Linked DNA regions of Homo sapiens: all the other regions are linked to region 1. Evidence: promoter capture Hi-C in 16 types of primary human blood cells and fetal thymus (Javierre and others, 2016). All regions are on one chromosome and are shown on one strand. The core of a region is centred on a gene start or on the middle of the fragment in contact, and the rest is flanking DNA. Distances in the headings are between cores, read along the strand shown.

Region 1 (4,221 bases), core at 849-3,348:
CTTAATGTATCTAAATAAGCAAGAAGACCAGAAAAAAAAACCAACCAAAATATTCCAAAACATAAAAAGACATCCTCAAATCACTTTGTGCCTTGACAAAACTTAACAGTAATATCATAAGCCAGTGTTGCAATGCTGTCATCCTACCTAATTCTACCTAAATGAGCTCAGTAATTTCTAAATTGGTTTCCAGAAGAGATCTTTACATAAGCAATTATCAAAAACAGCCCATTTTGTATTCAAGAAGCACAAACAACAATATTTAGTTTTTTAAACAATTTATATAAAGAATACCTAGAGGTTTTTTTTTACACTTCATAAACTAAAATCACTTACGAATACTTGACTAAAGCTATTTCTCATCATCTTTCCTTAGAGAAGACCAAAATACATTTTTCGTAAGGGCAAAACAAAAGCAGTAAATTACTTAAACATCACTTAAATGCCCCCTAAAGTAACCTTCCTTTCTCATACATTTTCCTATATTCATCGCGTTCTGCGGTACACATTTCTGAACTGAAATTGTATTAAGTTTAACCTAATACGATCTCTTCTCTACTAGTCAAAAAAAGATCTTAAGACGTTAACCAAATACATGGGAGGCGGGGTCGGGGGTGCGAGGTGGTGCCAGAGCAGATGGAAACAAGGTAAGAGAGTTGTTTTCTTAAGACACTAGGGTTACTCCCCAACTCCAAATGCCAAGATTCACTCGCCAGTAGAGCAAGCTGCTGCCACTATCCACTGCTTACACAATACAACCTTCCTTTCTACCTCTTCCCCTACACTCCCACCCATAACCCCCTTCCAAAACAAACACCCACAACGCGCCCCATTCCATAATCCGTGTTCGCCCCTCTAAGCCCACTAAACCAACCTGCTGGATAACAGCTCTATGCATTCGTCTTAGGCAAAAAAAGAAAAAAAAAAAAGCGACTGCAGCAAGGTCGGGAGTCCCACCATTCCTGTCACCCTAAACAATCCACAGGGTGAGAGCCCCAAGCCCAGAAGTTTGAGGCAAAACGATTCAGATCCAACCAAAAAGAGGGAATTGCAGTTGAATGGGGATGGGAGGTGGGGAGGGCGATGCGTATGCGTGTATATGTGTGTGTGTGTGTAAGGAAGAGTCCATCACATGACAGTGAAAGAGGACCAGAGTCGTCGGGGCGTCCGCAAGCAGACGGGGGGGAGGGTGTCGTTGCCGTGGCAACACCCCCCATCCGTCCAGACTTCCAAAGAGGGAGGAAGAACTTCAAATCCCAACCGTCAGCGCTCAAGCGGCTCCTTCTTAAAGGGGTACACACAGCGCCGCCGCCGAGCGCGAGAGGGCAGAGTTGGGCGCCCCCCGCCCCTCGGACGACGCCCCCGCCGCCCCTCGCCCCCAGCCGGCCCATCAGCGGCCCCCGCCCTGCGAGTGCCCGTGGGTCTCCAGGTCCAGGTCCCCGGGAACTGGCCGCGTCTGCTCACCCGGCCCCCGGCGGCGACAAGGGGGTGTGTGTGCGCTCGGCGGGGGCGCGGACCAGCCCGCCTTCCTCCGGCCGCCCTGCCCGCCGGCTCTCCTCCGCCAGGGCGCCGACCCACCGGGCCGCTTCCTCCGTCCTGTCAGGGTGGACGGCGGGCGACGGCGGGCAGCGACGGGCGCCGAGGAGTTTCGGGGAGAGAGCGAGCGGGCGGCTTCCGCGGGGGCTCAGCAAGCGGGTCCAAACTAACAGTTCCCGGGGAGCCCAAGAGCTGGGAAGGCGAAGGAGCGCGGACCGCGCCGGGCCAGCAGCCCGCAAGACAAAAGGCGAGCGCCGGGGCCGCCGCGCCGCGCCGCTCCCATCTCGCTCCCCCACCGAACTAACCCGAACGGGAGATTCAACTAAACCCCTCAGCCACAAACTCCTCGGGCTGCGACAGCGGTCGCCGCGCGGAGCCCGGGGCCCCGGCCCGCGTCTCTCTTACCTACACAGTGCATGAGGCGGTGGCGCCAAGAGTCGAGTTCCCGCCGGAATCCTCTTCTCTCCGCCGCGCACCGAGGGCTCCGGCACTGAGCGGCGGCGGCGGCGGCGGCAGCAGCGGCGGCGGCAGCGGCCATTCTCTCTCTTCCCTTGTCCATCTGCGTCCCGCGTCACGCGCCCTCATTTACATACGAGCAGCGCAGGCACGAGGCAGGGGCGCGAGCCCTCGGCGCGAGCCCCGGAGCGCGCGCCCCCCGGAGGGGGGTTGATTGACACGTGTCACTACCTTCCCTCTGCCCTGCCCTCCCCCTCCCACCGCTCCCTCAGGGAGAGGCGGGGAGGGAGCCAGAGGAGAAGGAAGCAACCTGCCGCTTCCGCTGACCCCGCCTCCCCACCCACTACCCTCCTCCCCCTCCCGCTGGAGTTTACTCAGGCGAGCCATACCGCTCCCGCCGCCCGCGAAAACCCTGAGCGGGAGCGAGAGACCCGGAGCCCAGCCAGGAACCGGCGTGCTAGTGGAGCGGACTAGCAACGCCTACTTTCTGCCTTCACTACGGGACTCCGACAGTCCGGAGACTTCACTTCCCAGGCTCCATTTCGCCAGGATCCCGAAGCTGAACTTGGCGCCGTGGCGCGTTGCTTGCCGGTCATTGTAGTCCAGAAGAAAGGATTTTTTTTGTTTGTTTGTTTTTCTTCCCCCCCGCACTTGGGTATGCAGGCTGGCCTGCAACTTCTCTGCGCCGCGCCGCTGGGGGGCTGAGTCTGTCGCTCCCTGCGCCCGGAACCATGCGCTGCCCGGTGGCCGGGTCTGACCCGACTGCTTTAGCTTCCTTAGGCTCCGCGATAGAAGGGTGGTGGAAGCCGCAAGAGTTGTCGGCTCCTTGTGGGTTCAGGCTGCGCTTTGCGTTTTAAGTGCTGGAAACTTTCCGGGGTCGCTGTCTTCCTGTCACTCCGCAGGGAAAGGGCAAGCCGGTCATTCGGCTACATCTGGAATAACTGCCAAACGTCCAGAGAGAGATCCCGGAGTGACTTCGGTATTCAAGGCGAAGAGATCTCGGAAAGCCAGAATATTTGCAAGGACTAGGAAAAAGATGCGGGTTTTTTTCACTGAAAATTACTTGCAGGGGACTGGGTGTAGCCGGCTGAAAACTGCAGAAGGAAAATTTTCTTTATAAGCTCCTGGAGGGCAGCGACCCACTGAGATCTCTGTACCGTGACATCTGTCACTCGCTAGACCCTAGTACAGTGCGTGACACGGGATTAAGCACTTTACAAAGGTTAATGGAATGAATTCTACCACGTGCTAGAGAAAATAACTTCTTCAGAGAGAGCTAGAGAGGAATCTTACGTTTAAATACAGACTCCAATCACAGTTTTTACTTTTGCACCAGAGCGATTGTGCGTTTGTTTCCGTATAAGTGCAGTTTATCAAGCCGAAGCTAAGCTACCCAACGTTTGCTAAGAAGTACTGTGTATTTCTGGAAATTTATTCACAAGTCTGTGGGAAATATGTTTAATTCTTCTTGGAAATCTCATAAACTCTGAATTCAGTACCACCTTCCCTGTTTTGTGGCTTATCCTTATCCACCTTCTTTTTCTTCCTATGAGAAAGTATTTCTTTGCTCATTATGACTTCAGTAGTGAAGATGTAATTTTGCATCTTCATAAGTTAAAAATAATAAAGTTTGAACGCATAATCACCTTTTCTAGAACGGTCACAATTGGAGTGCAGGTGAAATCACTAGTGAAGGTGATTTTGGAATTGTCAGTGGATGGTTTTAGTTAACCACTTCCACTCACAATTGCCACGATGATCAGCCTTTGCAGTTTTCCTGATCACTTTTATAGTAATCTACATTAGTTAGGATGGGAAAAATTATGGTGCAGTAATAAATGATCCAAGAATCTTAGTGGCTTAAAACAACAACAAAAAACTATTTCCTGATTATCTACATGTTCATCTCTGGGTGGCAGGAGGAGGGGGCTTCATTCCATGTGGTCTCACTAAGCAACTGGATCCTTAAAGAGGCTGGAATCTCTGCAACGTCCCCCCTTGGGTGATAGGCAAAAGGAAGATGAAGAATGGCGAACTGGTTCTTCCTAAAAGTGATACAAGTCAGTTCTCACATTTCATTGACCAAAGCGAATTATTCGGGCGTATCTATCTTAAAGGGAGCAGGGAAGTGCGATCCTATTATATGTGCAAAAAGAAGATAACCAGAATTTATTGGTAAATAGTATCAAGGATTACTGTGATCTATCCTTCTGGTCACCAGTTTACAGT
Region 2 (4,601 bases), core at 1,858-4,357, 180 kb before region 1:
TGAATTTTTGGCTCTTTCCTAGATGAAAATGCACTTAATGAGTGAATTTCCTACATAGTAGTTTTGAATTTCATACTTTTTCTCTCATCAAATAATGTTCTGCCAACATACTTTGAATTTGTTTCTCAATAGGACTAATCAGGAATGCTTTGAAGAAGCTTTTCTTCCAACCCTGCAAACACTGGCCAATGCCCCTGCATCTTCTCCTTTAGCTGAAATTGATATCACAAATGTTGCTGAGTTACTTGTAGATTTGACAAGACCAAGTGGATTAAATCCTCAGGCCAAGACTTCCCAAGATTATCAGGTGAGTGACTGTGGTAACTGCATGCAGATCACTGTTTTGGTAAAATAATCTCTCTCAAAGATCCCTTGAAATACTGAGGAACTGCATTTTGGTCTTTAGACTTCTGTCTCAAGCATATACCACAAAGCACGAAAGAAACATGACCTTGGGAAATGTGGAGAAATCATATGAAAACAGAAGTAATCAATGCTAACATTTTTGCTACTGAAAAGAAATTACTAAAAATCCACCACCCACACCATGCCCACCTAGTACTGACTGTTAATCTGAAGTAATAACCTATGTTATCTAGGACTCACAGAGTCTTCAAATGTTGGCTTACCTGCTATGCTTCTGGCACAAGAAAGGAGAATTCAAAGACTAGAACTCACCTCAAGCTTTTTTGGCTTTTAATTCAAAGAAGATAAATCAATTGCACACTGACTCACAGACTGAACTTAAGCTGGGTTGTTTTAATCCTTTAATGGCATTTGGTCAAACTTGTTACCATTTTTGAAATTTAATGTATTAGTGATTTCAGATGCTAACAGATTAAGTTGAAAGTATTACTCTATTTTATTTGATATTTAGTGATAAGCTACTCTGTTCAATTCATATGTTGTATATTATTGGAAAGATAAGATTACAAAGGATATTAGGCAAAATTAGGTAAGGGTCAGTAATAGAGCTATTAAGCACTTCATGACTTGAGACAAGGGCAAGAGTCATGTGGTAGGAATGATGAGTACAGCATTAGTTTTAAAACTCATTGACCAAAATTCAGTTAGGCCTTGTTGGTATTTGGGGAGTGGTTTGGGTAGAGGAAGGATGTTTTAGTAAAGGTGATATATGTAGATGGTTATGCAAATATTGGGGAACTGTAGAAAGATGACTTTGGCTAAGGATCCTGAATAGGACTGTTAGGGCACAACACTGGGGGTAGATTATAGATTGCTTTAAAGGCCAATGTAGGGAATTTGGAGTTGGCCTTATGTGCAATGGATAATTATGCAGGGCTTATGATGAAAGGGTTAATGTCATGAAAACCACTTATTGGAAAGATTAATTTGGTGGTCAGTGGTGGTTATATGAGATGAATTGGTGAGCAGAAAGAAAAGAATATTAATAAAGAAAGCAGCTGAAAATCTGTATAATTCGCTTGTAGAAAAAGTACTAGAAAGTAATAGTAGAAAGAATAGAAATTGACCTAATAAAGAATTATGGGTACAAGAATCTAAAAGAAAGAGCTTGAGAGGCAAGGGAGATGGAGGAGTCCAGGAAAACTCTAAGTATGTGTAACAGCAGACTTCAAAGGAGCTGTTGACATAGTTTAATTGGGGAGTACTCTCATGATCAGTGTCTTGGAAGAGTAAGGGAAAAGTAGATTGGGGCATAGCCCTAAGTTCAACTACTGCTATGCAAACAAAGGCCCCAGCCAATCCCATAGGGAGTTCCGGAACTGGGATGTTCCTTTGAGTTGTCCAGAATGGAGACAAGCTGAAACACTGTACTTGTGCACGGGCCAGTCATTGGATTTGGACAAATCTTTGGGAGAAGAGGTATGATCTTGGACAAGGTCCACCAAAGTCCACCATTGTCAGCCTGGATCAGTACTGCAGCTGGGAACTTTTACCCTCCAAAACATGCAGCAACTGGGGGATGAGTGCATCTTTCCTAAAGGGAGTGGAACTGGGCCCTATATCACAACATCCACAACAAGAAGTCAAGAAGGGGAGCTTATTTTGGGGGTAGGGAGGATGTTAAATTTGGTTTTAGACATTTTATATTTGGGATTATGGCAAGAAAATTAGTTGGAAATATTTGTTAGATGTGTAAGACTATATAATAATCATAATCATCTTCAATTTACAGAGAATTTTCTCTTAATTTTTTAGGCCTTAACAGTACATGACAATTTGGCTATGAAAATTTGCAATGAGATCTTAACAAGTCCGTGCTCGCCAGAAATTCGAGTCTATACAAAAGCCTTGAGTTCTTTAGAACTCAGTAGCCATCTTGCAAAAGATCTTCTGGTTCTATTGAATGAGATTCTGGAGGTAAAGTAGTTTCTCATTACTCTAAATTAGTTTGTGTTTATATTTATACATGTAGAATTTACATGGTTGTATTAGATTATACATATGTTAGCATATTGTGACTTATTTGAAGTATTTTCTTCATAAATTTCATATAATTTAGTGTTTTTAAACAACTTGATATGTATTGGTACTATTTTCAAAGATTAGGGAATGCGGTGTTTACAAAATGTTAATAATGTTTTCTTTTATAGCAAGTAAAAGATAGGACATGTCTGAGAGCTTTGGAGAAAATCAAGATTCAGTTAGAAAAAGGAAATAAAGAATTTGGTGACCAAGCTGAAGCAGCACAGGATGCCACCTTGACTACAACTACTTTCCAAAATGAAGATGGTAATCACATACTGAACAGAATATTTATAAGGTTCTGTTTTTTTTTTTCCATCTTTACTGAGACATATTTTTTTCTACTCTAACATGTTTGGTTGGACATCAGAAATGAATGAAATTTTTTTTCTAATTAATCCTCTTGGGAAAGAGCATTACTGATAAATGTTTATTCTGCTTTTCAAGTGTTTTTTGGCATGCATTTCTCAACATATGACCATCTTTTTAAGAGTTTTGCTTCTTTTTCCAATATTCAAATTTTCGAAAGGGTGATTTATAACTTTTCACTAGCTGCTAGAAGGACTTTGTCATTTCAGTTTTATAAAAACTGGTCTTAAAAAGACAATTTAAAATATTTCATGAGGTTATCTTATTTATATTGTTGTATTATTCCCTTTAATAGAAAAGAATAAAGAAGTATATATGACTCCACTCAGGGGTGTAAAAGCAACCCAAGCATCAAAGTCTACTCAGCTAAAGACTAACAGAGGTAGTGTGTGGATTGACCATCTTTATGATAAAAGTTTTAAATTTTATCTTCCAATGAAAAATACTTGTTTTGCAAGTTTTCTTATCTTTGTTTCCTTAGGGATAAAGATTTTTTTTAAAATGTCTTTGGTATCCTTTCTTTTTAATTCTTTCTGTGGATGTCAGTTTTTGCCTTGTGTCTAAAGATTATAAAATCAGTGTTGCTCTTGGTGCTTTAGATTGAAAGAAGTATGATGCAAAAGATATTACAAAAGACAATTTGGGTTAAATTAAGATTTGGTTAAATGATGGTTTTATATTAGTTATTTGTGTTCTATCCTTCCTGTAACTAAGCATTTTTAAAAAATCCCTGTAGTATTTTTCTGGGCTTTGTTTTCCTTCTATTCCCATCTTATTTCATATTTTCCCAACTTATTTCCCAAGGGCTATCCAACAATAGGGGATCTGTTGGCAAAGTAAATGCTGACTATTAGGGGGTCACTTGGAAAAAAATCTGAAATTCAAGATCTTTTTATTGTTTTATTATTTCCTCATTACAAAAGCAATGCATGCTTATTACAGAAGAATCAGAAAGTACATCCAGACAAACTACTATAAGGAACACTAATAATCCCACCCATGAGCCAACCATGATTTTGATTTTAGAAATCTATTTTTTAAGGCCCTTTTCGATGCAGATTTAATTTTTTCTAAAATGGAGTCTGGTCATAATATTGTTTTGTAACCAGTAAATTATTTAAATACCAATTGCTGGATATTGTTCCAAATTAGTCCCATATTGTTGGATGTTTTCTTGGGGATAAATGCATTAGTAAAAGCAGGTAAGGAGTAGAAAAAAGTGTAACATGAATGAAGTAGAGTATATAATTTTCAGACTGTCACATTGAACAGTTTGGTTTTGATCAGATTTTTTTTGTGGTATATCACACCATGAGAACACCATCCTTTTTAATAGACCAAACTTCATATATTCATATTGTTTTATTCCTTATAAATGAGAAACATCACAAGCCAAACTTTGTCTTACTCCTTAACCTTGTAAATTTCTAGTAAGTAGAATCTTATAATCCCCAGTATATAAAGGTTCTAGTTTTTACATTGAAATATATTTTAGAACACATTTGAATTGGTCATGTATGTTATTTTACAAGAAGCCATTATTACCTTACTATGTTTTATCACCTTCCAAGAAAAAAAAAAGTTGTTTCTTTAGCACCTGTTTATGCACCTAACCTACCTTTCTAACCCTTAATTTTCATGAGTCTCCACAGACTTTGTGCTATAGCAATAATAGAGGTACTTCATTATAACACATTTTTCATATACTGTCCTCAAATACATTGAACTAAAATTTGCCTTCTTTTAACTTGCTTGAAATTTCCTTATTTTCCCTTACTCATTAT
Region 3 (4,847 bases), core at 1,948-4,447, 150 kb before region 1:
ATCATAGTCACGGATTTTGATATCCCCCTTTCAAAAATAGAACAAGTAGACTGAAATTCACCAAGATGGAAAAATCTTGAACAGCACTAGCAACCATCTTGCTTAACTGACATTTATAGAACACTTCACTCAACGGCAGTAGAATATACATTATTTTCAAGAACACACAGAACATTTACTTAGATTTGCATAGATTCTCGGCCATATAAAACATCACAAAAAATTCAAAAAGACTGAAATCACAAACAGTATATTAGAATTAAATTAGAAATCAGTACCAGAAATATATCTGAAAAATCCCTAAATATTTGGAAACTAAACAACACATCTCTAGGCAGGGTCTTGCCATGTTGCCCAGGCTGGTCTTGAATTCCTGGGCTCAAGTAATCTTCCTGCCTCAGCCTCCCAAAGTGTTGGAATTACAGGCGTGAGTACTGCGCCCAGCCAACATGTCTCTAAATAATCCATGGGCTAAAGAAAAAATCACAAGAGAAATTAGAAAATATTTTGAATTTAATTAAAATGAAAACACAGCAGAGCAAAATTTGTGATATAGCTGAAGAAGTGTTTAAAGGGAAACTTATAACATTATGTTCATATTAGTAAATAATCTTCCTTCTACCACTATAACACTTACACTCTATTACCAGTGGTTCTCAAAGTGTACTTCCAGGTCCAGAAGCATAAGCATAAGTATCACTTGGGCCCCACCCCATACTCAATCAAACTCTGTAGGTGGATCCGCACAATCATTTTAACAAGACTTGCTGGTGATTCTGATGCACACTAAAGTTTGTGAATCACAATGGTCTAAGTGTGGTTAGGTGTCTTGCCCTACACCCTTCCTTCTTCACAATGCAACCAGGGAGATCTTCTAGAAAGCAAAATCTGATTATGTCATATCTTCCCTGTCCACTTCCAATTTAAATCTCCGCCCTAAGTGCAATGGGGAGCCACTGAAAGTAGACAAACTTCTTGGCATGGCTCATAAGAACTTGTATAGTCTGTTCCTTTGCTTCCTTCTCAATCCTCCCTACATCTGACATCATCTCCTTCTTTCTTGACTAGACACACTGGCCATGACTTACACCTCTAACCTGCCAAGAATCCCACACCTCAGCATTTTTTCCACATCCAAATCCTTCTTCCTACCCTACTGGTTCTCCACCACTTGGCCTAGTTAATTCCTCCTCACCCTTCACAGCTTAGCTTAATGGCCATTTGCTCAGGGAACTCTTCCTTCACTTGGTAAAACCTCCCAAAATTAAATTCCTATAGCACCACATACTGAGAATGTAACAGATTTGTGTATTTACTCAATGTCTGCCTCTCCAAATAAACTTGAACCGTGAGGGTAGGAACCATATCTGGTTTTGCCCCCACTATTTTGCATGTGTCTAACATACTGCCTAGCACGCAGAAGACAAACACTTTTGAATAAATAAAAAGAGTTTATAGGTACAGGCTTTTAAAATCTAGCTTTCTATGTTTGCATAACACAGAAAAAAAGTAGCAAATAAATGCATTTTCCAGGTTGCCTGGAACTGGGAGAAGGAAAAAGAAGCCAAGGTCTGGTTTAAATAAAACAAACACAAACAAGAAAAAAAAAAGTGGCAAGATGAAATCATTCAGACACCTACCCTTGCCTTTTTTGTTTGTAATTAAACTATAGGTGAATTCACTAGGCTTAACGTTACGATAATCACAGAATGCTCAGCTCCATGACAAGAAAACTGTTACTGCCCAGGAAAAACGAGAAGAAAAAATGGTAGTTAGGAGAGCTGAACTAAGAATTTTGAATTCTTAAGAAATAAAGAAGGAAGAAAAAAGGAGAAAGAGAACATTTAGACCTTGAGGCAGGAATTTATCATGGTGTGAGGCATTGAAACCAATCTCCTTCTAGCAGGTGGTAGCAGCTGGTTAAAGAAGAAAAGGGTGACCCTTGAACTTACCTCAGATAGAGAAAGCAGGTCTGGAGGCTGCAGGGAGAGAATAAAGATTTACAAAACAGAATACAACTGGTGTTCATGGCTCCCCCAGCACCACTCTGCTGGATAAAGACAGATATTGACCCGTAAAGATCAAACAAAACAGAACAGCTAACATGTCAAATACATTGTATTGTGTTGAGGGAGCGAGTGTTGAGGAAGAAGTGGATGGGGTGTTGGGGACGAACAAGATAGGATGACCTTAATATATTTTTTAAAAGCCAACAACTTATTTTTTATTTTTTTCAAGCCACACCATATCAAAATTGTAGTGATACGAACAGAGTCGGCAAACTTTTCTGCAAAGTGCCAGGTAGTAAATATTTTAGACTCTGTAGGCTTTATGGTGTCTTGTTGCAACTATTCAGCTTCTGCAGCACAAAAATAGCAATAGGCAATATACGAGTGAATGAACATGGCAGTGTTCCAATAAAACTTTATTTACAAAATAGGCCATGGGCCAGACTTCCCAATTTAGAGAATTAAATCTATGTCTGAAAATAGTTCTGTTCTCTACAACCACCAGTATGTGGAATCAGCCAAATTATGTTTCTTTTACTAATTATGTTGCCAAAGTAAAAACTTGAAATATCTTCTAGATAAATTCCTTGAGTTCCTTTGTGACTTGAACATCTAACACAACACCTGATACATCAAAAGAAAAAGTATCCAATGTTTGTTAAATAAACTGAATGATTTTCTGAGAAAGATATGGGGCAATTAGTAAAACAGAATATCCTGAAAACTCAGTAATAGTTGAGAAAGCAATGGAATATAAAATATTCAAGAAAAATTCTAAGAAAAAACATCAAGACAAAGATTGTTTACCTGTTTTACATTTTCACAAAATATTATGGCAAAAGTTAGAGACTCTTTAAAACCTAAACTCTTCTCTTAATTCCTAAGAAAATTACAGGGGAAAAACTCAAATATAAACAGAATGTATCTTTATTAAAAATTCCTCAGGGGGGTTGGGTGTAAAAAAATTCCTAATTTCATTAGAATACTTTAACAGAATCAAATCTTAACAGTTGTACTTAAAGTAATCATTTCCTTTTATCTTGTGTTCAGTGTTCAAAATATGTGTTAAAATGCTCATAAGCAAGATCAGAGGAGTATGTATGGTTAGTCTTGGTTTCTGGTAGTTGAAGGAGTATATTACTTAGTTAAAAATCAGCCATCAGTTACAAACCTGTGTGAAAACCAGAATTCTGAATGGGAAAAATGTAAATTCAGTTATTTTTGACGACAGATGGCAAAATAGAAGAAGCTGACAAACTTTTTTTTTTCAGTCATCTCAGAATTCGATTCAAAGTGTCAACTGAATTCAAAATTTTTATGGGAAAATTTAATGTTTTAGGATGGCTACTATTATTACAGGAGCTTCAAGACCACATTAGGTTATTTGATTCTTAAAAGTTTACTCAGAGGTGTCCAGAGTCAGCTTATTTATATCGAGATGTTTATCAATTAGGAAAAGATATACACCTGCTTTGGGAACTCAAAAGATACTGACATTAAAAAGGTCTATATTATTTCCAACAGTCGCACTCCATTTTTAGGCCATTACCATCTCAAAAATCATCTCCTGCAACTGACCTTTCACACATCACATTTCCCATCCTCCACCCCCTGGATCTATATTTGTGCTACTATTAGAAAAGATTCTCTAGAACTCTGCTTTGATCATATAGCTTCTCACTATTCACAGAACAGATATATTCTTGGCTCGATCTCTTTGTCCTGTCATCCCCACGTGGTGAACTTGACTATTACTAAATCTAAGGGCCCACCTTTCTCCAGGCTTACATTCTGGCAGCTGAGATAAAACCAGTTGTTCTATCCTATATTTCTTGAGACAGCTATTTCAAACCTTGTCCATATTCCCCAATTACCCAATCCCACATACTACTCTTGATTACCTCTTGATTCACAGAAAATGGACTCTAATATCTCAGGATTCTGCCCACAAATTACCGATTTGCCTTCCCACATATTGTTCCCACTACCTTTTTTTTTTTTTTTTTTTAGAGAAAAGTGACCCTTTTGGCTAAGACCAATCTCTCTAACCATGTCCTAGATCCTATACCCAATAATCTACACAGGGGCTTCACTCCATTTCCATTGGTTGCCATCTCATTTCTTTATCTTCAATTGTTTATTCCCTATTGGCTTTTTTCCATTAGCATGTAAATATATATCTTTTAAACCTGTCTTCAACCCCAGCTTAATCTAGCTAACCTTTGTATATTCTCTCCATTCATGGTCAATTATAGTTTTCTGTGCTAATTTTCTTTCTCTTCCTTCATTTAACTCATCTAGCCTTGAATATGACTTGTGGCTCTGTTAGTCCACCAAAGCTACTCTTTCCCAACAACTAAGATAAACTCTTGTTGCTATATTCAATGGAACCGTTTCAGGGCTCATCTTAGTTGACTTCTTATCAACAGTTTACATTGCCTTCTCCCTTCTTACAACACATTTCCATTCACCACATTCTCCAGGCTTTCCTCTTACCTCTCAACTACTGTCATCTGTCTCCTTTTGTATACATCCTTCCTTTTTCCTAAATCTTTGAGGCTCCGACTCCCTAGGCTCTTTCAATCTTACAATGAGTAATCTCATTGTAATCTCTTCCACTCTCATGGTTTCAGTTATTTGTTGATTCACAAATCCTTATTTCAGCTCAGGCCTTTTTCTTGGGAAACAGATCCGTATGTTTAGGAAGCATATCCATAACTGCTTCCTAACATCCTTTCTTGGATATCCCACTGAACACCTCAAATTTCTCACATCTAAAGAGCATTCTATCTTAGTAGATCTTACTATCCTCTACCCAGATGTTCAAGGCAAAAACCT
Region 4 (4,309 bases), core at 970-3,469, 240 kb before region 1:
AACCATCAATTTTTTTTCCTCAAATGTTTTTGACTTGTGGTTAGTTGACTTTGAGGATGTGGAACACATTGATATGGAGGGCCAACTGTACATATTATTTAATTATAATGAAATATCAAGAATCAAATGTCAAAAAAATCAAAGTCAAGAAATTATGCAGATTTAAAAAGGTGTGTATTATCTATGAATTTCAAGATAGTAACGTGGATGTTATAAAAAGGGTGATGTTGGATCTGAAAAGAATTGAAAGCCATTGCTCTAGATGATCTTATACACACTAAAGTTTAGAAAAACTGCAAGTCTAACCCCAAGTTTTAGTTTTTTAATAATGATTTCATTAGGTCTTGGGGCTAAAAAATGTTCCAGTAGGAAATATTATACTTTCAACTTTACAATGGAAGACAACGGGAAAATCAGATTCCTTTATCAGCTTTGTTGGCCCACAGCTGCTGTAATCAAGGCACCATGAGCCGACCTGTTTTGGAGAGCCCTCTGCAGCTCCTAGGATTTTCCAGCACTGGGATTAGTAGGTCCCTTTACACCATCAGGAATGAAATTGAGGGCAGAAGAGAATTAAGTACTATATCAAATGTGGAGGTGGAAGTACATTTATTAGGCCACTAATGTCATATTGGCACTGTGCTAAGCCCGTAGCACATGTTTTGACCTTCTCTGAGGTACTTATTGTCATTCTCATTCTACAGACTAGGAAAGTGAAGCTAAGGCAGGTTGAGTCCCCAACTGTATACAGCTAGTGAATGGATCTGGGTCTATCTGACCTCAAAGGTGATATTCTTTCCAATTGATTTGTCTTTAGATTACAAATATAAGCTTCCCAGAGCACAATGCTGGCAATATGATATTTTTCTTTTAAAAATTCTTATTTTTTAAAATAGAAACAAGGTCTCACTATGATGTCCAGGCTGGTGTTGAACTCCTAGCTTCAAGTGATCTTCCCACCTCGGCCTCCCAAAAGTGCTGGGATTACAGGTGTGAGCCACTGTGCTTGGTCAGAAAAATTTAAAATCATAATTGATTTGCCTTTTCTTTAGATTATAAACTTCTCATAGTATCCCCCCCAAACATCCTCACCCATAATAATACAAACAACAACAACAAAAAAAGAGTAGAAGCAAGCAAAAATAACCCCACATTCCAAACTCAGAGAAAATTATTGTTAATATTTTGGAGAAGATACTTCTAGACATTTCTGTGTAAACATATAGAAAATGTAACAAACATATATGTATTTCAGGAATGTTTACACACTTCTGTGTAAACTATAAACAAATACTATAATAATTTTTTTTTTGAGACGAAGTCTCGCTCCTGTTGCCCAGGATGGAGTGCAGTGGCGCAATCTTGGCTCACTGCAACTTCCACCTTCCGGGTTCAAGAGATTCTCTTGCTTCATTCAGCCTCTTGAGTAGCTGGGATTTCAGGCATGCGCCACCATGCCTGGCTAATTTTTGTATTTTTAGTAGAGATGGGGTTTCGCCATGTTGGCCAGGCTGGTCTCGAACTCCTGACCTCAGCTTCAGCCTCCCAAAGTGTTGGGATTACAGGCATGAGCCACTGCACCCGACCAATAATTTTTTTTGTTTTGTTTTGTTTTTGATGAGTCTCACTCTATCGCCCAGGCTGGAGTGCAGTGGTGCGATCTTGGCTCACTACAACCTCTGCCTACTGGGTTCAAGGGATTCTCCTGCCTCAGCTGGGATTGCAGGTGCCTGCCACTATGCGTGGCTAATTTTTCTATTTTTAGTAGAGACAGGGTTTCACCATATTGGCCAGGCTGGTCTTGAACTCCTGACAAGTGATCCGCCCACCTTGGCCTCCCAAAATGCTAGGATTACAGGGGTAAGCCACCATGTCCCGCCTATAATAATGCTTTTGAACCCTACTTACTCAGTAATATAAAGTGGATATCTTTTTGTCAATGAAGATCTAGCTTCCCATTCCTAACAACCAGTCTTCCATTACATACAATACCATTTACTCTATCTTCTACTGGACAATTTTTAAAATATTTCAAGCCAAAATCTTTAACGTATATTTGTAATGTATGCTTGCTGTATTATGAGGATATTAAATTCTGTCCTAAGGGATAGAGAAAAAAAAGAATATATGAAATTCATGTGTTAAGTATAATGGGCAAAGAAGTAGCCTGTGAAATAGGCAGTATTAAGATGTTAAGTATAGATAGTGTAGAGCAAGACATGACAGAGAATAAATGGAATATATGTAAAAAGGATGGAAGAAACAAGAGTGTTCCTAACGGACAGAATAAGGTGGGAAAGGCCAAGTTGCAATGTACAGACGATGCCACCTTCAGGCTGATAGTTCATTCCTAAAATGGCCATTCATTAATGACACCAGTTCTGGCCCTATTTCTGTTCTGCCACAGAAACACAGATTAAGAACATGGCTTTCAGTCGGGAGCAGTGGCTCATGTCTGTAATCCCAGCACTTTGGGAGGCTAATGTGGGAGGATTGCTTGAGCCCGGGAGTTCGAGGCTGCAGTGAGCTATGATCCTGCCACTGCACTCTAGCCTGGGTGATAGAGTGAGATCCTGTCTCTAAAAATAAAAACAAACAAACAAACAAACAAAAAACCCACGGCTCTCAGCAGGCCATTAGCTAGGTATCCTTGCCCCTGAGTTTCTGACAGAGCAAGTGTGCACTGGCTGTAAGCACCGCTGAGCCCCCATTTTCAGTTTTGGCTGCGGTCCTCATAACCTAATTATCAGAGGTAAAGGTTGATGTAGCAGATAAGACGCCACAACACTGCGTAACATGAAATTCAGGTAATTTTTCCTCCCACCTCTCTTGGACCCTATCCTAAATGTGTTAAACGTCACTATATCTTTCCAACTATATTTTGTTTAAAAGCGATAAACCATGTGATTTGAGCCTCTTAATTTGCGGTGTGAGGTTTCCTGTCCATGACACCTGGGACAGCCTGCCTAATCGTGTATTTTAAGGTTACTATTGCATCAAGGGAACTGCCTACATGACATTGTTGTAAGTGGGTTTTTGCACAGATGTGCAAGTGTTCCCACAGAAATATTCCCCCGCACCACTTGTTTGCTGGTAGAACTGAATACCTTCCCACAACTTGATTAGTCATTGTTTTTGCCTGGCTTTCTTGCTGCTTACAAAGAGCTCTTCCTTAATAGGGGCTTTTAGCACTTTGCCTATCATATATATTGCAAACATTTCCCGCAGTTAGCGGATTTTTTTTCTAGCTTTCTCATGCTCTATAAACATTTTGAATTTTTATGTAGGAAAATCTGTTGATCTTTTCCCTCACATTTTTTGGCTTTTTCCTCATGCTTAGAAAAGCCTTTTCTACCCCAGATTATGAGGAAAAGGGAATCCATAGTTTATCCTAGTACTTTCATGACTTCATTTAAAATATGGTTTATCTACCTGGGATTTATGCTGATATATGGAATGAGGTTAGACTCCAGACTTATGCTTTTCCAGATGGCTAAATGGTTGTCCCAACAGGTATTAAATAATTCATCTTTACCACGCTGATAATCTAAGTGTTGCCTTAGGTGATTTCTTTGGTAAAAATTTACTTCGGTAGATTTACTTAGGCTAAAGCTTTTAATTAGTATTTTTCTTTCCTAATCAGTTAAGTGGCACAGGTAACTCGATTATTGTTATTACTCCTAATATATTACTCATCTAAAACCAAGTTCACATTCTTGAGTATCTAGAAGGCTTTTTCCCCTACTATGCCTGACTCATTCCTACTCATCTTTCAGATCTCAGCCTGAATGTCAGTTCCATAGGAAGGCTGTCTCTGTAGTTGCAGATCAGTCTGCATGTCCTTAAGATATGTTCTCGTAGCTCTGCATTTCCGTATAGCACCTATACCATATTTTATTTTTAAAAGCTGATGTTTTCTGTCAAACATCTTCCCTTTTTTGAGTGAATGTAAGAACACACGTGTAAATTAGCATCATGTTTTTTTTTTTTTAACTGTAATCCTAACACACATTAACTAGTATTCAGGGTTTCATTAAACGTAGCATGGTATCAAATCTTCCATCTCATCTCCCAGGGAGTAAAATGAAAACCTCTTTTACACAATGGTGACGTTTGTACTGAGATTTCAGTATATTGACATGACACCATGGAGAATGACATTTTGGAATAAAATGTTTTATAGCAAAGTCATAGTCAGATTGTGTTAAATATTGATATGATCATTTGAGCTATGTACTAAGTGGCAACTCAAATTTTTTAATGGACTAAAGTATCGGTAATATGTCTGATCTATGGTTGAATATTGCAT
Region 5 (4,128 bases), core at 121-2,620, 140 kb before region 1:
ATACACACACACGCAAACACACACACACACACACACTCACAAACATTTTCCTAACAAGTAATCTACACAGGCTTGCTGCTGTTTTTGCAGCTGCCAGTCCCTGAATCTGTCATATTATATAACCCAGTGTCTGGTAATCGTAGTTTCTTCTTCGGAGGAGTCTTCAGTGTTCCAGATCTTTCTTTTACCTTGTATTCTAAAGTGCTGTGAGGTACCCCATAAATTCCTTGTGCTTTGGAAACACTCATTTTTCCGCTCATTACCATTGCAATAGCTTCTTCCATTATTTCATGATCATATTGCCGATAGCGGCCACGTTTTTTCCTGGGCTGCTTACTGTCTTTTCGATCTAATCCATCTTCAGTATTTTCAGAGGTTCCATCAACTGTTCCATTTTTAGAATTAAGACACAAAGGAGAGAGGTCCCCATGTAGAAAGTAAGAGTCAACACTTGAGTGAGTTACAGGCCCAGAACATTCTATTTTGTTCTGTTTAGGGAGTATATTTTTCAGTTTTTGGAGAGCTGATCCTTCTAGGACTGAAGAGGTTTTGGAAACTTGATACATAACATCCAACAGACCAGAACCATCAGGTTGTGATTTTGAGACAGAACTTACTCGTAGCTGAGGAATTTTTAACTGTACAGTAGGATTTGAAGTTTCATATTGGAGGCTTTCATTTTTTTCTTTAAACTGAGTGACCATTTTCTGTAGAGTTAGCTGATGGAGGTAAGTGGAAGCTGTTGGGAATTTTATTTCTGAGGTTTCAAGTAGATTGAGTTTACTTTTTTCTGTGCGCTCTGCTTGAGCTCTTGCCCACAAGGCTACTTTTTGCAGCACTGCACAAGTTTCTTTACTGTCCTTATATGAATAACTATCATGGAAATCTCGAGTTTTGTTTTTAAAAGATGCAGGCTTCCCTGCTGGTAAGGCTTCTAAGTGAAGAAGTAAAGTTTTTTGAGGTATGCCATAAAGTATGCCTGCTTTATTTATGTCCAGTGCTCCAGACTGAATGTCTTTCAAAGCTTTTGAGAGCAAACCATCTGCAAACTCAGCACTTCTTTCCACATAGTCCTCTCTGTTTCTGTGTAGTCTCCTGGATGGATGGAATGAAACGATGGTAAACTGATGCATGAGAGACTCTCACACAGCTATGGAAGGGGAGGGTCCACTCCTTTATTATACTCCTTGCTTAGGTAACATCACTGCTTATGACACTTTTAAGTCTGTGAGATGTAGTAGTTACTCCTTATCAAAGCAAACGCTACAGTCCTGGTAGGACAATGTGACAATGATACGGTGGCCTCAACGGGCAGACCTTCCAAGAACATAAAATCCTAACTCAGTATTTGTAAAAATATTCTCATGATGTTGCTATTCCTCTGATAGATGCTTGCAGAGCAACACTTATAAATTTTATTTATACAATTAGAGCTCCATTATAAAAAGTACCCAAATCCTAAAGGAGTTTTTGTTAGTACAAACGTGACGTTACCGCTAAACAAGTAATAAAAGAGTCAACCCCTTTAAAGGAAATTTGTAGCAGCAGGAATATTTCCAAACACAAACATCCCATATTTCCACAAGACTAATTTTTCTCTAGACAAGAGCTTAAAACTTGAAACAAGTAGATGTTATATTTGAATAATTTAATTTTAGATATTATAAATGTCACTATTTCAAATTATCATTGTAATTTTCAAAGTTTCTCAAACAGAAAGCTTACTATACCTTACGACTCAAATACTACTACAGCCGTAGTTGAAACAAATTACAATCTACCTCTAAGATTTAAATGTGACAAAAAAGCTTCCTATGCAGTTAGTTAATGGGAAGATGCAAAAAAGTTGTAAAAAAAAATCCAAAAATCCAACAGAACAGCATTTCACTACTAATTATTTATTTAATGATTAATGACACTTTTCAAAACATGAGAGGACTTTTTGTGGTGATTACTAGATATATTTAAGTAGTTTGCCACCACATCTAAAGTGCAATAAAAAAATCTAAACACTATAAACTAGCATTAATTAGTAAGTACAGTGCTTTTGGAATTTGTTCATTGTTTTAAAAAATTAATAAATTACATATTTCCCTTAAAATTGCGTCCTGAGTATTTAATTTAATATTCTCTTACTCGTCCTGCTTCTTAGTTTGTATTCTATAAGTTGGTAGTTCATTTTAGTAACATGAACTAAAGTTTGGTGATTGTTCTGATAACTTTTCTTTAACAGAAAGAATAAAAAAGAAAGAGAAAGGACAAATGAAAGGTATGAGAGAGAGACACTTATGAGTGACAAAAATTCTGGAGGAAAACTATATACGTCAATACTACTCAGAATAGTATTAAGAGTTCTCTGCAGAGATAATTTTATATTAATATTAAATTATATTTCCTAGATATTGCTTACCCAGCCACTGAATTTTCAGAAGAAGGATCACATATGGATGACTCTTCAGATTTTATGCTGGTTTTCTTTGTAGAGAGATCTAACACTCCATCCCCTATAATTTTTGCAAGAGAAAAAACTTTATATTTGCAACAGATAGGCAATCCTTACATTTTAATATTTCATATTTTGTTGATCTAATTCATAACACTAGTATTTGATATGTGGCCATTACCTATTCATCTTAAACGGGTTTAGGAACAGGATATGACTGGGAAGGCACTATATAGGAAAAAAAGAACAGAGGAGGAGCTGGCATTGCCAGGTGATAGGAAGAAACTAACTAAATATATGATATAAAATTTGTCTAAGATAAACTTTTAGTCACCTCTCCACCATTTTGTAGTGAATAGCCATTGATTGCTCATTCATGACTGTTTTCCATTCAAAGCTGCCCAGATAATGCTTTGGGAAGGTGGGAGTGATGTAAATTGTACAAAATGGAGAGAATAGAAAATGTGATGATGAGTAAGAGAATTGAATAATTAGCATTTACTAGGACTAGCAAAAGGTAAACTGTGGCTGTACGTATAAACATGTATTTTCTAGAACTCATAGTGTAAAATTTTACTCTTTTAAATTATTGAACTATACAATAGTTAAATCATTGCCTACATAATAAATTGTGCTTATATCTACGACTAAAGACATAATTTACGATAATGCAACTTTAGAAAAATAATGTTATAAAATAACTGCCTACGCATGTTATTAAAATGTAATTATAACATTTACATAAATAAAAACTCAATGATTCAGACTTGTTAATCTGGCATGCTTCAGGATCAAAAAGGATAAAAATAAACCATGAATTTAAAACCCAGCAAAGAATTCCGTGAATGTTTTTATTGTTAGCTAAAAAACTGAAAGTTTTAGCTCTAAGAAAAATTATTATTGAAAAATACATGTTTAAAAATATACTAATTCAACTGGGCTTAAAAAATTCAACTGGGTTTTACTGTAACCATAATCAATCCATGAAATATGTATGTTCCTGGGCAGATACAAAGATGAAAAATAAAACAAAACATCCTATCTATAGCCTCCTATATAGACTTCGACAATAATTTATTGAGCGCTCACTATATGCAAAGCACTATTTTAGGCACTAGAAGAGCATCAAAAAAAAAAGTCATACAAAGTACCTATTGTCATAGTCATAGTGCTTAGGATCTAATGAGATAATTCATACAACACCACAACCAGCACCACTACCACCAGCAATTATGATAGTGCCACCCTGGAAAATAACACAGAGTAAGCTGATAGAGTAATGAGGGTGGGGCTGAGAATGCTGCTGTTTTACACAGTGTTATCAGTGCAGGCTTCTTTGATTTGAACAGGGCCCTGAATAAGGTGAGGATCACCAACTAATCAGATACATGGGAGAACGTTTCCAAAAGAACAGTCTGTATAGGGGCTGTGATATGGAACCATGTCTGGAATGTCAGAGGAATAGCAAAGGCCAGGGTATCTGAAATGAAGGAAGCCAGGCCAAGAGTGAGCTGAGATCAGAAATGTTATAGGAAGAGGTTAAACAGGGCCATTGGGCCATGGCAAGAACTTCGCATTTCATTCTGACAGAGACAGGAAGCCACTGGAGAATTCTGGGTGGAAGACTGACATGATTTCAATTTAGGTTTTTAAAAGATCAATCTGCTATGGGAGAATGGACCGCA

The links. The method cuts DNA at HindIII sites, captures the fragments that hold promoters and counts their contacts. A CHiCAGO score of 5 or more calls a contact.
Region 2: a fragment that was not itself captured here is called in contact with the fragment with the promoter of LCORL in region 1 in 4 of 17 cell types (monocytes, erythroblasts, megakaryocytes and 1 more); the score reaches 7.7 in monocytes.
Region 3: a fragment that was not itself captured here is called in contact with the fragment with the promoter of LCORL in region 1 in 1 of 17 cell types (monocytes); the score reaches 6.0 in monocytes.
Region 4: a fragment that was not itself captured here is called in contact with the fragment with the promoter of LCORL in region 1 in 5 of 17 cell types (monocytes, total CD8 T cells, naive CD8 T cells and 2 more); the score reaches 7.9 in monocytes.
Region 5: a contact is called between a fragment that was not itself captured here and the fragment with the promoter of LCORL in region 1, in 1 of 17 cell types (monocytes). The highest score is 5.7, in monocytes.

Annotation. Positions count from the first base shown.
Region 1 is chr4:18,019,657-18,023,877 of GRCh38, forward strand. It overlaps LCORL (ligand dependent nuclear receptor corepressor like), which reads right to left and starts at 2,099. Exons shown (of 8, transcript NM_001394446.1): 1 at 1,942-2,099. The coding sequence starts at 2,095. RefSeq lists silencers at 1,311-1,640, 1,961-2,420 and an enhancer at 2,471-2,730. The HindIII fragment of the contact is 12,000 bases long and covers 1-4,221 here.
Region 2 is chr4:17,837,495-17,842,095 of GRCh38, forward strand. NCAPG (non-SMC condensin I complex subunit G) reads left to right here. Exons shown (of 21, transcript NM_022346.5): 16 at 133-307; 17 at 2,182-2,343; 18 at 2,577-2,715; 19 at 3,113-3,199. It overlaps LCORL (ligand dependent nuclear receptor corepressor like), which reads right to left. Exons shown (of 8, transcript NM_001394446.1): 8 at 3,693-4,601. Among named protein-coding and RNA genes, the nearest start is that of NCAPG, 29 kb to the left of the region's middle. The HindIII fragment of the contact is 4,850 bases long and covers 683-4,601 here.
Region 3 is chr4:17,865,047-17,869,893 of GRCh38, forward strand. All of the region lies in intron 7 of LCORL (ligand dependent nuclear receptor corepressor like), which reads right to left. Among named protein-coding and RNA genes, the nearest start is that of NCAPG, 56 kb to the left of the region's middle. The HindIII fragment of the contact is 6,517 bases long and covers 1-4,847 here.
Region 4 is chr4:17,783,743-17,788,051 of GRCh38, forward strand. No RefSeq gene overlaps it. Among named protein-coding and RNA genes, the nearest start is that of FAM184B, 4.3 kb to the left of the region's middle. The HindIII fragment of the contact is 2,781 bases long and covers 830-3,610 here.
Region 5 is chr4:17,883,658-17,887,785 of GRCh38, forward strand. It overlaps LCORL (ligand dependent nuclear receptor corepressor like), which reads right to left. Exons shown (of 8, transcript NM_001394446.1): 6 at 2,411-2,504. Among named protein-coding and RNA genes, the nearest start is that of NCAPG, 75 kb to the left of the region's middle. The HindIII fragment of the contact is 696 bases long and covers 1,023-1,718 here.